5 separate regions of the Homo sapiens genome follow, and regions 2, 3, 4 and 5 are each linked to region 1. The links are contacts of gene promoters, found by promoter capture Hi-C in blood cells and fetal thymus (Javierre and others, 2016). All regions are on one chromosome and are shown on one strand. Each heading gives the region's core, a stretch centred on a gene start or on the middle of the fragment in contact. The rest is flanking DNA. Distances are from core to core; before and after follow the strand shown.

Region 1 (2,700 bases), core at 163-2,662:
AACGCAATCAGACATGTGTGGAAACAAGCAGCTATGAGCATCCCTGACTTTCGAAGCTACACCCCTTCTTTTGGCTACCCACCCATACGTCTTCATTTGATAACCGTTCAAAAAGTTTCTTCCTGCCAGGCGGGTTTGCAGCACTTTCTCGGAGCAGGCACAGCATGCCACCTGCACGGGTGCACGCTCGCAAGAAAGCAGCAAGGGCTAAGGGACAGGAGGGCTGGGGAGGGGAGGCACGGGGCAAATCAAAACTCAATCCCAACAGCGTTAACTGGCATTTTAGGCCGAAGCTCCGGATTCGGAGGCTGGGGAGGAAGTAGCTAGCGCTGGCCTCGGCTGCCTGGCACGACCCGCGCCCGTCCTACCTGCCTGGGGGAAACTCGGGCGGCGGAAAGTCTCCCCGCCCCCAGCCGTCCCAGGCGTGGGGCCAGACAGGCGAGGGGGGCGGAAGGGGGGCGGCGGCGGGGGTCCAAGATCCAGGGCCGCAGCGGGCTCCCGGTGGGCTGGCGAGAAGAGGAGGGCGTCGGGGCCCCCGGGCTCGCCCCCCACCTGCCCCCCTTACCTTGGGCAATGGCAATAGACTCGAAGCGGTGCAGCTCTTTGAGCAGGCAGCTCCTCTCCGTGGAGTGCAGGCTGTAGATGAAGTCGCGCGCGCCCTGCGCCGTGTTCAGCGCCTCCATGGGCTCCTTCTTGGGGTGCGTGCCCAGCCGCCTGGGGCCGCCCGGCAAGCCGCCGGGGGGCGCGAGCGCCAGCAGCCCCCGCCCGCAGCAGCACCAGGACGGCGGGCGGGGCGCGGCGGCGGCGGCCGGGCCCGGCCTCAGGCTGCGCGCGGTCCGGCTCCTCAGCAGCGGCAGCAGCCGGGACATGGCGAGCTGAGGAGCTGGGACCCCCGCGGCCGTCCGGCAAGGCGGTTTCTGGCGCGGCTGAGGCGAGAAGGAGCTGGGCTCAGCTCGACCCCGCCCCGAGGTCCTCCTGCCAGGCAGCCGAGGCGCCGGGCACCATGCACTCCGCGGGCCCGCGCGGCTCTCGCCTCCTGTTCCGTCCCCACTTCCTTTCCAAAAGGCCCGCGGCGGCTCCCGCCCCTCCGATGGGAAAAACTTTCTCTGAGACGGCCGGGCCCGGACAGCGCCCGGAGAGGGCGGGCGGTCGGTGCGGGCGGGCGCCTCCCGGCTGAGGAGGAGCGGCGCGGGCGGGCGGGGCGGGCTAGTGTGTGTCTCTGTCAGTCTGATCTTCCAGAGGATGAGTCAGCCACGCACCGCCCTCCTCCAGCGCCGCCCTACTCTCCCGCCAGCTTTCTCACCCTCTAGCCTCCCCACGTCCCCACTCTGTAAGGTTCCCGAGCCCTCAAAGCAGCCGCGCTCCCGAGCCGCAGCCGCCGCCGCCGCCGCTACCCCTAGCGGCAGCAGAAGTGGGAACGGGGCGGGGCGAAAGGGGAAGGAGGTGCGGGGGGGCGGGGAGGTGTGTGAGCGAGGCTGCGCAGGCGCAGTCTGCAGGCTCTCGGGCCGCCCTCCCTCCTAGGGGAGGAGCGTGCACACGCGTCCCCTCCCGCGCTGGTGCGTGAAGGTGGAAGGAGGTAGGGTGCGCCACCCTGTGCTGGCGTTAAACCTACAGATCGGAATAGGGAAAACGAGCTCTGGACCCCTCGCCCGCCAGGGTAGTACAGCTGCCACCCGGCCCCCAACCTGGGGCCACATCTGGAGCTTGTTCTGAAAGGTGCCCCGGCGTGCGGCCCCGCTCTGGACAGGCGGAGAGCTGCGCTGCCACCCCAGCCCCGACGGGATCACGGCGCTCTGCTCCGGAACGAAGCGCCCCAGCTGCGCCCTTCGCCAAGTCAGCGCCCACCGCCGCTTCGGCCGAGCAGGCCGGCTCTAATGCAGTCGCTCTGGGCGCCCCAAAGAGAAAGCGAAGCCAGTTCCACCCCTGCCCAAGGAGGGTCTGAGACTGAGCCCTTGACACGAGAACAGTCCTCCCCGTTCAGATTCCAGCAGCTGGCATGCAAATTGTTAATGCTAGAGGCAGAGGCAAGAATGTCATAGACCTTTCCTAGTGGTTGCTTGTGATTTTTTTGTCTCTGTGCTAAAGCGGGAAGAATAATTTGATTGTCCACGATTTCCCCTGATCCAGGTCCTAGGCATCTTTCAAGGCCCAGGTGAAAGGTCTCCTACTTCATTAAGCTGTCCCTAATCTCTTCTAAGGGAGGAGATCTCTGCTTTATCTGAACCTGTCTAATGACGCTTAGGCACCCTTAGAGAATAAATCCACTTAATAAATCTGCTGGAGCGTAATCAAGATCTAAATCCCATCCTTATCATAAACAGTGCTGCACTCAGCCCGGAAACTTGTAGGTAGTAAATGTGCTACATGTAAGTAGAATATTAAACTGAATAATGGAGGATTGTTACCACTAAAGCCTCCTACTTCTCTAACTCTGGTTCTCAAAGTGTGTCCCAGAGCTTTTTAGACGTGAGAAATAGTGGACCCCACTTCACACCTCCTGAATCAGAACGTAGACATTGGACCCAGTCATGTGGGTTTTAACAAGCCCTCCAGTAATAACACACACGAAAGCTTGAGAAACACTGATGTCTCTTAAACATTGAAAGGAATCGCTTCTTTTTTAAATTCCAAGGTGATGCCTCTGTGATGTAATAACAACAATTAAGAATGCTCTCTGTGGAAATGAAAGCTTTTTGAGTG
Region 2 (2,700 bases), core at 196-2,695, 550 kb before region 1:
ACCCAAAAGTCAGTAGAAAGGAGAATGAGACCAGGTATGATGGCATACACCTGTAGTCCCAGCTACTCAGGAGGCTGAAGATAGAACTCCTTTGTGCCCAGGAGTTTGAGTCCAGCCTGGGCAACATAGCGAGACCTCAGCTCTAAAAAATCAATTAAAAATTTAAAACAGAAGAATGAACAAATGATTGTGTTACGTTTACATATAGATATTTAGATACATTTCAGAAGTGAAAACATTTAAGCTATAACTATGTTCTTTTAAAATTATAACATCCATTTAATGGATGGTTACAATATTTTCTAGTTTCTAGTGCTCCCAGCTGTTAGGATCTGCAGGTGTTCTATGGGTCCAGGCAATGTTACATGTCAGTAATAATGGTACAATGTGGGATATTTGTGCTGTTCCTAGGTTAAGGGAGACATCAAGGAGGGAGCCTTCAGCTTCCTTTTCTAGGCATTCTAAGTACAGCTACGAAATTCTGGGATCTGGGGAGGGAAGTGAAGTCTCCACAGTCTGTACCCAAGCCTGCATGTCATTATTCTCTTTCCAGTCCTGTGCCTCACTCCATTTCAGCCTCTCTGGTTCAGCTTTCCCTTAGTATCCTAGCTGGATGGGGAAAGAGGTGGTATTTAGGGGATTAAATGCTCTTAATAATGAACTCTTATTTTCTGATAAATTCCTCTTCCTCTGCTCTGCAAAGCCATCTTCCAGTTCCAAGTATCTGCTTTCTGTCTTCGTGTCCTGTGGTTTGGGTTACAAACCCCTCATAGTTTTATCACTGATTGTTTCTGTTTCTCATTCTCCTTGTGGTTTTAGTGGGTGGTTGCCAAGAGGAGAAGAGCAGAAAGTTCTTAAACATTTTCAAAGCAGAAATCCTCCCAGCCTCATTATGTTTTTATTTCTTTTTGTTAGGGAACATATACAAAAGAAGGGAGAATAGTATAGTGAAGCTTCATGCACCCATCACCCAGTTTCCACAGTGATTCATGTTTAGCCCCTCATTGCATATATACAAAACAAAGACCACTTATATATGTATATATGTGTGTGTGTAAATATACACACACACACAACGATACTATTTCCCCCACCACTAGATTATTTTAAGGCAAAACTTGGATACCACATAGTTTATTCTATAAACAATGCAGAATCATTTTTAACTCTGAATTTCTGGAAGCAATAGTCTCCCAGGACATAAACAGCACAAGTATCCCCACCAAACCATTATTAGGCATGTAACATTGGAATTAGTAGCTAATGAAATTAGGCAAAAGAATAAGAGGTAGTCACATTTAAAAGGATGGGGAAAAATTATAATTTTTCAGATACTTATATACTAGGAAGATGCAAAAGTTACCTGAAACATTAGAAACAGACTTCAGTAAGTAGCTTTCTTATCTGTAATCAACAACCAGTTATATTGATATAAGGAAAGAAAAGAGCTACCTTAGTAGCAAAAATTATGTATAAATATAAAGTAAAAGATCTTTCTTAATACTAAGAACAAAAACCTCAATAAATATGTACCCATGCATAAATATAAAATAAAGTGAAATACTGGATGTCTTAGTTTGTTCAGTTTAGTTCAGGTAGACAAAAGTCCACAGCTGCTTAGAAGCAACAAACATTTCTCTCTCACAGTTCTGGAGGCTAGGAAGTCCATGGTCAAGGCTCTGGCAGAGTCTGAAACAAGAGGGTCCTGTTTCCCAGTTCATAGGTGGCCATCTCCTCAATGTGTCCTCACGGGGTGGAGGGGTCAAATGAGCTCCCTCAAGCCTCTTTCCTAAGAGCACCCATCTCACTCATTAGAGCTCTGCCCTCATGACCTAATCACCTTCTGAAGGCCCCACCTCCTAATACCATCAAGTTGAGGGTTACAGTTTCAACATATGAATTTTGGGGGGACACAGTCGGATCACAGCACCTGACAAGAAGCTTAGTGAGAAATTTGCAAGATACCCTTGAGGAACACCTTAAAGCACTCCTGAAGGACAGAAAAGAAAACCTGAATGTACGGAAAATCATAACTGTTCTTGGATAGGCAGCCTCAATATTGTCAAGTTACCAATTCCCCCTAAATATATTATGAATTAAGCACAATTTCCTTCAGAATACCAGTGAGTTTTTGTTTTGTTTTGTTTTCGTCTTTAAATTTTGGAACTTGGCAAAGTGATTCTAAAGCTGAACCTGGAAGAAGAAACAGTGGAGACTTAAAGGTAAAAAAATCTAAAAATATCTATCCCAGCAGGCGTAATCAAATGTATTATAAGCCTAAAGTAATTAAACAGTATGGTACTAATTCAGATACAGACAGATTATTCAGATACAGACAGAAAACTAAAAAATAGAACTTAATACACAAGAATCTGAATGTGGCATTTCAGATTAGTATCCAGGAATGTCCGTGGATCATTTAGTAACTGATTTGGGGATAACTGGCAGATATTTGGAAAAAATATAGGGGGGCGGAATTCTGCCTCAATCCTCATACCAAAAACTTAAGAGGGATCAAGGTTTAAATATTTTAAAATATTAACATAAAAGTGGAAACAGGTGATTTTTTTTCCATACATTTGGCATAAAGACTTTTTAAAGGATGACACCAATCCCAGAAGATTTAAAAGAAAACTGGTAATTATTACTAAATAAAAATGAAACCTCCTGCCTGCCAGAACTCTATAAACTGAGTCAGAA
Region 3 (2,700 bases), core at 103-2,602, 540 kb before region 1:
CCTTTGGTTGGTTTACTTTATAAATACTATTATGCTATATGCATTTGGCTTTTTTTTTCACTTAAAATCACATTATGAACATCTTTCTATGAGGTACATGTCATTCAGCCTCGTGTTACCATCTGCCTCTCATCACTGGGCTCTCCACTCCTGCCCCATCAGGTCTTCGCTAAGATGCGAGTCCTCAGCATTTGTATTCATTAGAAGTCTTGGTTGGTTGTAAGAGGAACCGGCTTTATTTCATTTTTTAAAAAGAGAGGGCATTTATTATAAAGACCCTGGGGTTCTGATGGAACTGGAGAACAGAGACGGAATTAAGCCTCAGAGACAACTAGGATCAGGGTTCTCCAATCTTCCTCCTCTCTGTATGCCTGTTCGATTCTTCTCCCTCCAAACTTGTTTCCTCTGCTTCCCCAACCACTCCCAAGGCTTACATATTACAGGCTCATCTACCGAGAGAGAGCCTGATTTGTCTCTATCCTAATTCCCATATTCCTAAGGAAGGGGATTATGGTTATGCCACCACTTGTGGCTGGCCATGTTAGAAAAATTGGCTACACCTGTAACAAACATGGAAGTGAGAGATGAAGAAAATCACCTTACGATGGGTGGGACCAGATAGACAGGGCAAATGATGCTCAGGACACCTTCCTTAATCACTCCAAGTTGGAGTTAGGAGCCCTTCTCTGTAAGCTCAGAGCATTCTGTATATATACTATGAGAGCACTGAACACAATGAAATGTGAATGCTCATTTGTTTGTAGTTCTAGCTAAATGGTAAGCTCCATGAAGATAGGCACTGTTGTGTTTATCAATGCTTACTGGGCTATGACTGTGCCACTGAGGTTTTGGGATTGCTTATCACAGCAGTTACTCATCTCTAACCAAACATACCCTCCCACGTGATGACCCTATGTCCCTTCCCAAAAATGACCTGCTTTGAGCCACTCTCACCTTTGTTTATTGATGTATTATTTACTGCTGGAGGAATATGCATATCTATAATCACTTGACTTGACTTTCGGGACACAAGGGAACTGTGGATATATTTGGACCTCTGTGTTTCTTATGGTAAAATACTGGCCTTTTGCTCCTCCTATTCTGCAGGGCTCTGGTTGCTTTAGGTCTAATCCTCATCCAGGTACTTATGCTGGGCTGCTTTTCCACTCAAACCATTTGGGCTCTCGGGGCAAGGAGGAGTAGTAGCTCGATGTATTTTTGCTAAAGCTGCACTGATGGACAGTGGGCCAGAGCTGGGCTCTCTCAGAAGAGCTTTCAAGGTGGCCTGGGGTCAAGGTGCATTTTAATTTCTCCACGCTTAACTTTCATACCTTTGCTTAATACCTGTGATATTCCCTGCCCTTATAGTCAAAAATCAAGTTTTCCTTTATTCTTCCATTTCATCCTTCCCCGCTTCCTTCTCTTTGTTATTTTCCTTCCACAAATATCTCCTGCTGAACTCTAAGTTCTGTAACAACACAAATCAAGGCTTTTATTCATCACTATGTCCCATTACCCAGCTTGGTACTTAGCACATAGTAGAGGCTTAATATATATAGGTTGAATAGAGTTGGATATGAGACCTGAACCATATTAGATGCTGAGGAGGAAGGAGTGAGAAAAGATAATTTATGCCCTTATGCAACTCACAATCAAACTCTAAAGATTCTTCAGGAAGCAGTGGTCATAATAAAAACCATAATAACCATAGCGATTGTTTATACGATGCTCACCATGCGCCTGGCACTGTTTTAAGCCTGACTGATTTTTGAGGGCAGGAGGTGGAGGGCACAGCACCAGGGGTCTTTGCTGCAGCTGATGTGGCCTCTGCAGAGGTTCAGAGACCTTATACAGCTGCTGTGACTGGTAGGTAGCTCAGGAGTGTGGGGGAAATGTTGGGTTCGAAGCACTTCAGAGAATCCCAAACTAGTTCACACCACCAGAGCTGAAGTAAATGACACGAGACCCAGCCCCGCTGAGCTTTTCTGGCTGCCATGAAAGCCATGCAATTCCTGACTTGAGTCTGAGACTCCAGAACTATTCTGTCTGGCTCCAAGTGTTCATGGAACTCTCATGCAACAAAGGAAATGCCTGAGATAATAGGACACTTTAGAACTGTTTTGAGCAAGAGATATTTTGACGTGGTCTGAAAAAAAAATAAACCTGTTTATAAACATGACTAATGCATAATGGAGTCTGTCACTCTGTATTTCTGACATAAGGACCATGTGTTTGTGTTGGGACATGTTCCAAATTTCTAGAGAAAAAATGGCGCCCCAGCAGTTAGTGGTGCTTTAGAGTTATGTATACTGGGACAGATGTCCTTAGAAAACCACTCTGTTTCAATCTGCAGTGATCTGGAATCTTCTCCATCCCTGAATGCCACCCCATGTCTTTACTCATGTGGCAGAGACTGCTATTTGTCCATCAATAGCCACTTTTCCTGGCTTCTGTAGCTATTTAGTTTTCAGCTGGGTACATGGCTTCTCAGAATAAAGACTACATTTTCTCCAGCCTCCTCTGTAGCCAGGTGTGGCCAGGTGACTAAATTCTGGCCAATGAAAGCAAGCAGAATTTACCTAGCATCTTGTGGGTTATGTCCTCAAAAGGAGACCTATGCTCCATTCATCCCCATTTCCTGTTCCCATTAGCTGGAATGAGAATGTCAGAGTGAGCTGTCCTGGACGGAGCATGTGGCTG
Region 4 (2,700 bases), core at 98-2,597, 590 kb before region 1:
ATACTGGCTAACACTTTTGAATACCTGCTGTGTGCTAGATGTGCCAAGCTCTATTACAAGTGCTTTTTATATTGTCTTACTTAATTCTCATAACAGCCCCAGAGGTATGTATTATTTGTACCCCCATTTCACAGATGAGGAAAGTGAGCACAGAACAATTAAGTAACAGCTCATGTCTTAGTGGTAGTAAAGGTCCAGGATTTTTTGGCAGTTCACCATGAAACTTGTACTCTTAATCACTGCAAAGAACTGTTGTACTGAAGTGATAGGTGCTTTTATGGGGCGATAGTGTCAAGATCAAGAGAGTTGATATTCCCAGTGGTCAGACCACATCTTAGAAGGGATATTGGTTTAGAGGAAAGGGGTGGAGTAATGAGGGCACCTAGAGACCAGGTTGTATTTATGCGTAGCTGAAGCAATGGAAATGAGTATGTGGGCTTCTTTTTGGTCTGCATTTAATTTTCTCCAGGGTACGTACTAAATCCATTGAGTGGAAGGCTTAGAAATTTTACTTCAGTCTAAAGTACCTCTTAATGGAACTCTCAAACTGTATCATAATAAGCTAGTGAACTTTCCTGTTACTGACAATATTCATGTAGAGTTTGACTAAATTTCTGGCTAGAGAGATTCTGAATTGGCAGATGGATCTAATTCCAATTCAATCACAAGGAACAAATATTACTAACTAGCAAATGTTGGTACTTACAGTAAGTTTGTTCTCTACATTCTGTTGGTATGTTGCATATTTTGGCACCTTAATTGATGGCTATGTGCACAGTTTTTTGTTTGAATTATAGAGTGATAAATATGTAGTTCATTGAGCTAATGACATGTAATCACTGGTTTCAACATAAATAAATTTCAGGAGACTTGTGAATTAGTTAATTTGGACAGAACTTAATTAAAAATATTTTGCTTTTCTTAGATATGCACTTTGCCTGAGAAATGCGCTGTTGATAAGATCATCGATTCAGGCCCTCAACTCTCTGGATCACTAGATTACAATGTAGTACATAGTAAGTGGTTAGTAGAAATGGTCTTTTGTCAACATAAAAACTTGTTTTAAACCATCAATAATTACTAGCAATTACTTATCAAGTAGGTACAAATAGTACTAGTTTCTAAGGCATGTTATTGTTTGAAATGTGACCTTAGTCTTTTGTTTTCCAGTGTGGCTATAATTAGTCACATACACTAGAAATTTATGCAACTGAATGATAAGAAAAATTTTGTACTTCAGAGTATATGCAGGAAACCGAGATTTAAAAACTTTAATTCTTTTTCTCTTCTATTTTACTTTTTCTTTCGTCACATAGCATTCATTTGTAAGAATCTTTACAGAAAGCCAGGAATTAGTTTTTTTAAAAAAATCACTGTTGTGTAGTGTTCCATCTAAAACAAGGTACTTTTGTTTCTTCAGGTTTGTATAACAAAGGATTTATTTATCTGGATGTACCAATATCTGATGACAGTTGTATAGCAGGTAAGTCCGTGCTAACATTTTTCACTGTTTTTTGAATGGATATCAGGTGCTAAGCATTGCATATCATCCGTTCTAGGATCTTAGATGTTAGGATATTTCAAGAAAAATATTGCTTCGTTATTACATTTTAACATAGTACATTGGTTTTACTTAAATTCTTTATTCTCATTTTTGTATTTGGTGTACATACTACACTAAAATAATAGAAACCCAAGGTAAATTTCTAACAATCCCAAATCAAATCAATATTTTTATAAATTTTTGTTACCTTTTAATCCTTGTTCAGTGTGTAGCTGTTTTTACATGTGTTCAGTAATCTCATAGAATTGTATGTTCTCATTTTCACTTAACATACTGGTGCATTATTTTTTCATGTTACTGTAGTCTTTTTGTCTATTTCCTTTTCCCTTCTTCCTTTACCTACTTCTCCAAGTTAAACCAATATTAGGAGCCTTGTATATTTGTCATACACTTTATGGATGTATCAATTTATTAAACCATTTTGTATTTCTGGTAATTTAGATTATTTCCAGTTTTTTTGCCACTACAATACTGATATGTTCAATATCCTTGAATACAGAGTGATGCTTTTTTTTCTATAGGTTAGATTTCTTACCAATTTATAGAAGCACTTACTATGTTCAGGTTATATGTTACAAGTATGTCTTGTGGCATATCTTTTAACTATTGTTCTTGTGTTTTATTATACTTAGATATTGAATATTTGTGTAATCAAATATAAAGTGTCAAAAAATTTCAGAGAATGACCCTAATATTAACAAATTAGTGGTGATAGGGCTTATTACAGAAATACTTCTTTATATCAGTGTTGAATCTTGACAAGATATCATGCTGTAGCGTGTCCAGACCTTTGGGTTGGCATATGTTTGTGATTCTTTAATAACACATTTTAAACCTTGTGCATATGTGAATTTTTTTTTTTTTTTTTTTTTGAGACGGATTCTAGCTCTATCGCCCAGGCTGGAGTGCAGTGGCATGATTTTGGCTCACTGCAACCTCTGCCTCCTGGGTTCAAGCGATTCTCCTGCCTCAGTCTCCCGAATAGCTGGGATTATAGGCACCCACCATCACGTCTGGCTAATTTACTCTACAGGTAAAACCCATAGAGACAGGGTTTCACCATTTTGGCCAGGCCAGTCTTGAACTCCTGACCTCAAGCAATCTGCCCGCCTCGGCCTCCCAAAGTGCTGGGATTA
Region 5 (2,700 bases), core at 54-2,553, 570 kb before region 1:
GATAAAGTTTCATTTATAAATTAGACATCTCTTACTAGAGATTAACAACAATTACTAATAAGAAAATAGCATACTGTAATATAAGTTATATGAATGTGGTCTCTCTCAAAATACCTCGTTATACTATACTCACCTATTTTCAGACCTTGGTTGACCACAGATGATAACTAAAACCATGGAAAGCAAAACCTCACATAAAAGGGGACTATTGTATTGAGTATATAATTCACATACTGTACAATTCACCAATTTAAATTGTGCAGTTAAGTGGGTTTTAGTGTGTTCACAGATATGTACAGCCATCACCACACTCAATTTTAGAACATTTCATTACCTTAAAAAGAAACCTTGTATCCTTTAGTGATCACTCTTCTATTTTCTCCCCGCTACTCATCTCCTTCCCTCTAGTCTTAAGCAACACTAATCTACTTGTTGTCTCTATAGATTTGCCGAATCTGGGCATTTATGTGAATGGAATCATATATAATATGTGGTCTTTTGTGACTGGCTTCCTTCATTTAACATAATGTTTTCAAGGTTCATCATGTTGTCATAGTATCAATACTTCATTCCTTTTTGAGGCCAAATAATGTTCCATTTTATGGATATGCCACATTTTGTTTATTCCTCCATCAGTTGATGGACATGTGGGTTGTTTTCACCTTTTGGCCATTATGAAGAATGCTGTCATAAACATTTGTGTACAAGTTTTTCTGTGGACATATGTTTTTATTTCTCTTGGCTATATATGTATAGGGATGGAATTACTGGGTCATATGGTAATTCCATGTTTAAGCATTTAAGGAACTGCCAGACTGTCTTGCAAAGTGGCTGCATCATTTTACATTCTCACGGGCACTTGATATTATGTGGCTTTTTGATGATAACCACCTTAGGAGGTGTGGAATGGTATCTCATTATAGTTTTGATTTACATTTTCCCGAAGACTAATAATGTTGAGCTTCTTTGCATGTGCTTATTGGGCTGTGTGACATTTTCATGATAAACCTTATACTTTATTTCCCACCTATAAAATGGAGATGGCAATATCTATTGTATAATAACAAACACTTATAATAATGGCAACTAGTGGTAAGGTAAGCAGTTTATGCTCATAGAATTGAGAGAATGAAATGAAAATGTACGTGTCAAATGTGTAGCACACTTGCTGGCACATAATAGGTTCTCCGTAAAGATTTCGTCAGTTCATCTAACAATTGAATGTGCATATTTTGCGCTAATTAATATCAATATGCAAATAAGACAGGGCCCCTCATCTTCAAGGAATTTAAGGATGGTGGGAAAAGCTGCATAAGCACTCAGTTTCAGTTTATCGAATAGAATTACATATAGTGGAAGACTTAAAAAGAACTATCCAGTCCAGCCTTGGGGCAAGGAGAAGGGCTTAGGGGAGGTTCCTTAGAGAAAGTGAGACCCAGGCTGAATACAAAAGGATGACTTAAAAGAAGCGAGGTAGTAGGGGTCAGCATGATTAAATCTCTGGGCAAGGATTTTTTTTTTTTTCTTTTTTCTTTGCTGCTATTTTTCTAGTGCCCAGCACGGTGCTTGGGTCATAGTAGTTGTCCAGTTAGTGTTTGTGGAATAAATAAATAAGAATATGAAGTGACATAACATGCCAGGGTCAATAAGCTGTTCAGTGTTTTTGAGGGGTGAGTTGGAGTGTGAGGGGGTTGTGGTCAGAGACAAGTCTGGAGAAGTAGGCTGGCCCTGCAGTGCCGCCTGCCTTGAGTGTCCTGCCGTGGAACTGAGAAGTTGACCTGTAGATTGATGGTAGCAATTACAGGGGGGTAACAGGGATTAACATGGTCAAATTTGTTTCAGGAATCAACCTTGGGATGATATTGAGAATGGGAGGGAGTGGGGAGACACCTGAAGCAAGAAGACCAGTTAGGACTGTGTGTAGTAGTTTAGATAAGAGATAAAGATAGCCCGGATCAAGGACATGGTAATAAGAATTGAAAGGAAAAATGGATTTAAGAACTACTACAAATATACAATTAATAGAATTGATCAGATATCTGAGAGAGATGGGAAGAGGGAAGAAAGATTCTGGGGTATTTGACTTGTGAAGGTAGAAGGGTGGTGATACCACTACTGTAGGGAACATAGGAGGAAGTGACATCACAGGAGGTGGTGATATCACTACTCTAGGGAACACGGGAGGAAGTGATATCATGGGAGGTGGTGATACCACTACTCTGGGGAACACGGGAGGAAGAGCACATTTATGGGGCAGATGATGTGTTGTGTTTATATGGTGCCTGTGGTAATTGGAAATATTCTGAAATTCAAATGAGAGGTTAGACAAGAGTGATTAAGTGTCAGCATCAGGTGGTAGATGGTAGTTGAAACCATGAGAGGATGAAATTAGCCAGGGAAGATATATAGTATGGGGTGGTCGTGGGAGATAGCATCATAGAATGGGCTAGACATGGACTTAAGTCAGACTGCCTAAACTCAGATCTTGGTTCCATCATTTACTAGTAATCTTAGACAAGTTAAATACCTTTTTGAACTTTAGTGTCTTTACCTATAAACTGGAGATAAAGTTCCCATCTTTTTAAAGTTTTTGAAAAGAATGACTTGAGCACTGTGTTTAGCACATAGGAAGATCTCAGAAAACGTTATTGTGTTGGTAGTGGCAGTAGAAGTAGAGTGAAGGAACAGTGGGTGATTCCA

What was found. Contacts are between HindIII fragments. The CHiCAGO score rates a contact against its expected background, and 5 or more counts as called.
Region 2: a fragment that was not itself captured here is called in contact with the fragment with the promoter of TMEM65 in region 1 in 11 of 17 cell types (M2 macrophages, naive CD4 T cells, total B cells and 8 more); the score reaches 9.6 in M2 macrophages.
Region 3: a contact is called between a fragment that was not itself captured here and the fragment with the promoter of TMEM65 in region 1, in 1 of 17 cell types (M0 macrophages). The highest score is 6.1, in M0 macrophages.
Region 4: a contact is called between a fragment that was not itself captured here and the fragment with the promoter of TMEM65 in region 1, in 1 of 17 cell types (neutrophils). The highest score is 5.1, in neutrophils.
Region 5: a contact is called between a fragment that was not itself captured here and the fragment with the promoter of TMEM65 in region 1, in 2 of 17 cell types (naive CD4 T cells and activated CD4 T cells). The highest score is 5.3, in naive CD4 T cells.

The regions. Positions count from the first base shown.
Region 1 is chr8:124,371,289-124,373,988 of GRCh38, forward strand. It overlaps TMEM65 (transmembrane protein 65), which reads right to left and starts at 1,413. Exons shown (of 7, transcript NM_194291.3): 1 at 566-1,413. The coding sequence starts at 869. RefSeq lists silencers at 436-485, 496-625, 676-805, 936-1,205, 1,326-1,555 and enhancers at 1,280-1,574, 1,786-1,975. The HindIII fragment of the contact is 4,556 bases long and covers 1-2,569 here.
Region 2 is chr8:123,816,432-123,819,131 of GRCh38, forward strand. No RefSeq gene overlaps it. Among named protein-coding and RNA genes, the nearest start is that of FER1L6, 34 kb to the right of the region's middle. The HindIII fragment of the contact is 988 bases long and covers 952-1,939 here.
Region 3 is chr8:123,835,490-123,838,189 of GRCh38, forward strand. No RefSeq gene overlaps it. Among named protein-coding and RNA genes, the nearest start is that of FER1L6, 15 kb to the right of the region's middle. The HindIII fragment of the contact is 7,253 bases long and covers 1-2,700 here.
Region 4 is chr8:123,779,060-123,781,759 of GRCh38, forward strand. FAM91A1 (family with sequence similarity 91 member A1) reads left to right here. Exons shown (of 24, transcript NM_144963.4): 7 at 926-1,016; 8 at 1,421-1,483. Among named protein-coding and RNA genes, the nearest start is that of FAM91A1, 12 kb to the left of the region's middle. The HindIII fragment of the contact is 2,784 bases long and covers 1-2,700 here.
Region 5 is chr8:123,800,290-123,802,989 of GRCh38, forward strand. All of the region lies in intron 18 of FAM91A1 (family with sequence similarity 91 member A1), which reads left to right. Among named protein-coding and RNA genes, the nearest start is that of FAM91A1, 33 kb to the left of the region's middle. The HindIII fragment of the contact is 4,877 bases long and covers 1-2,700 here.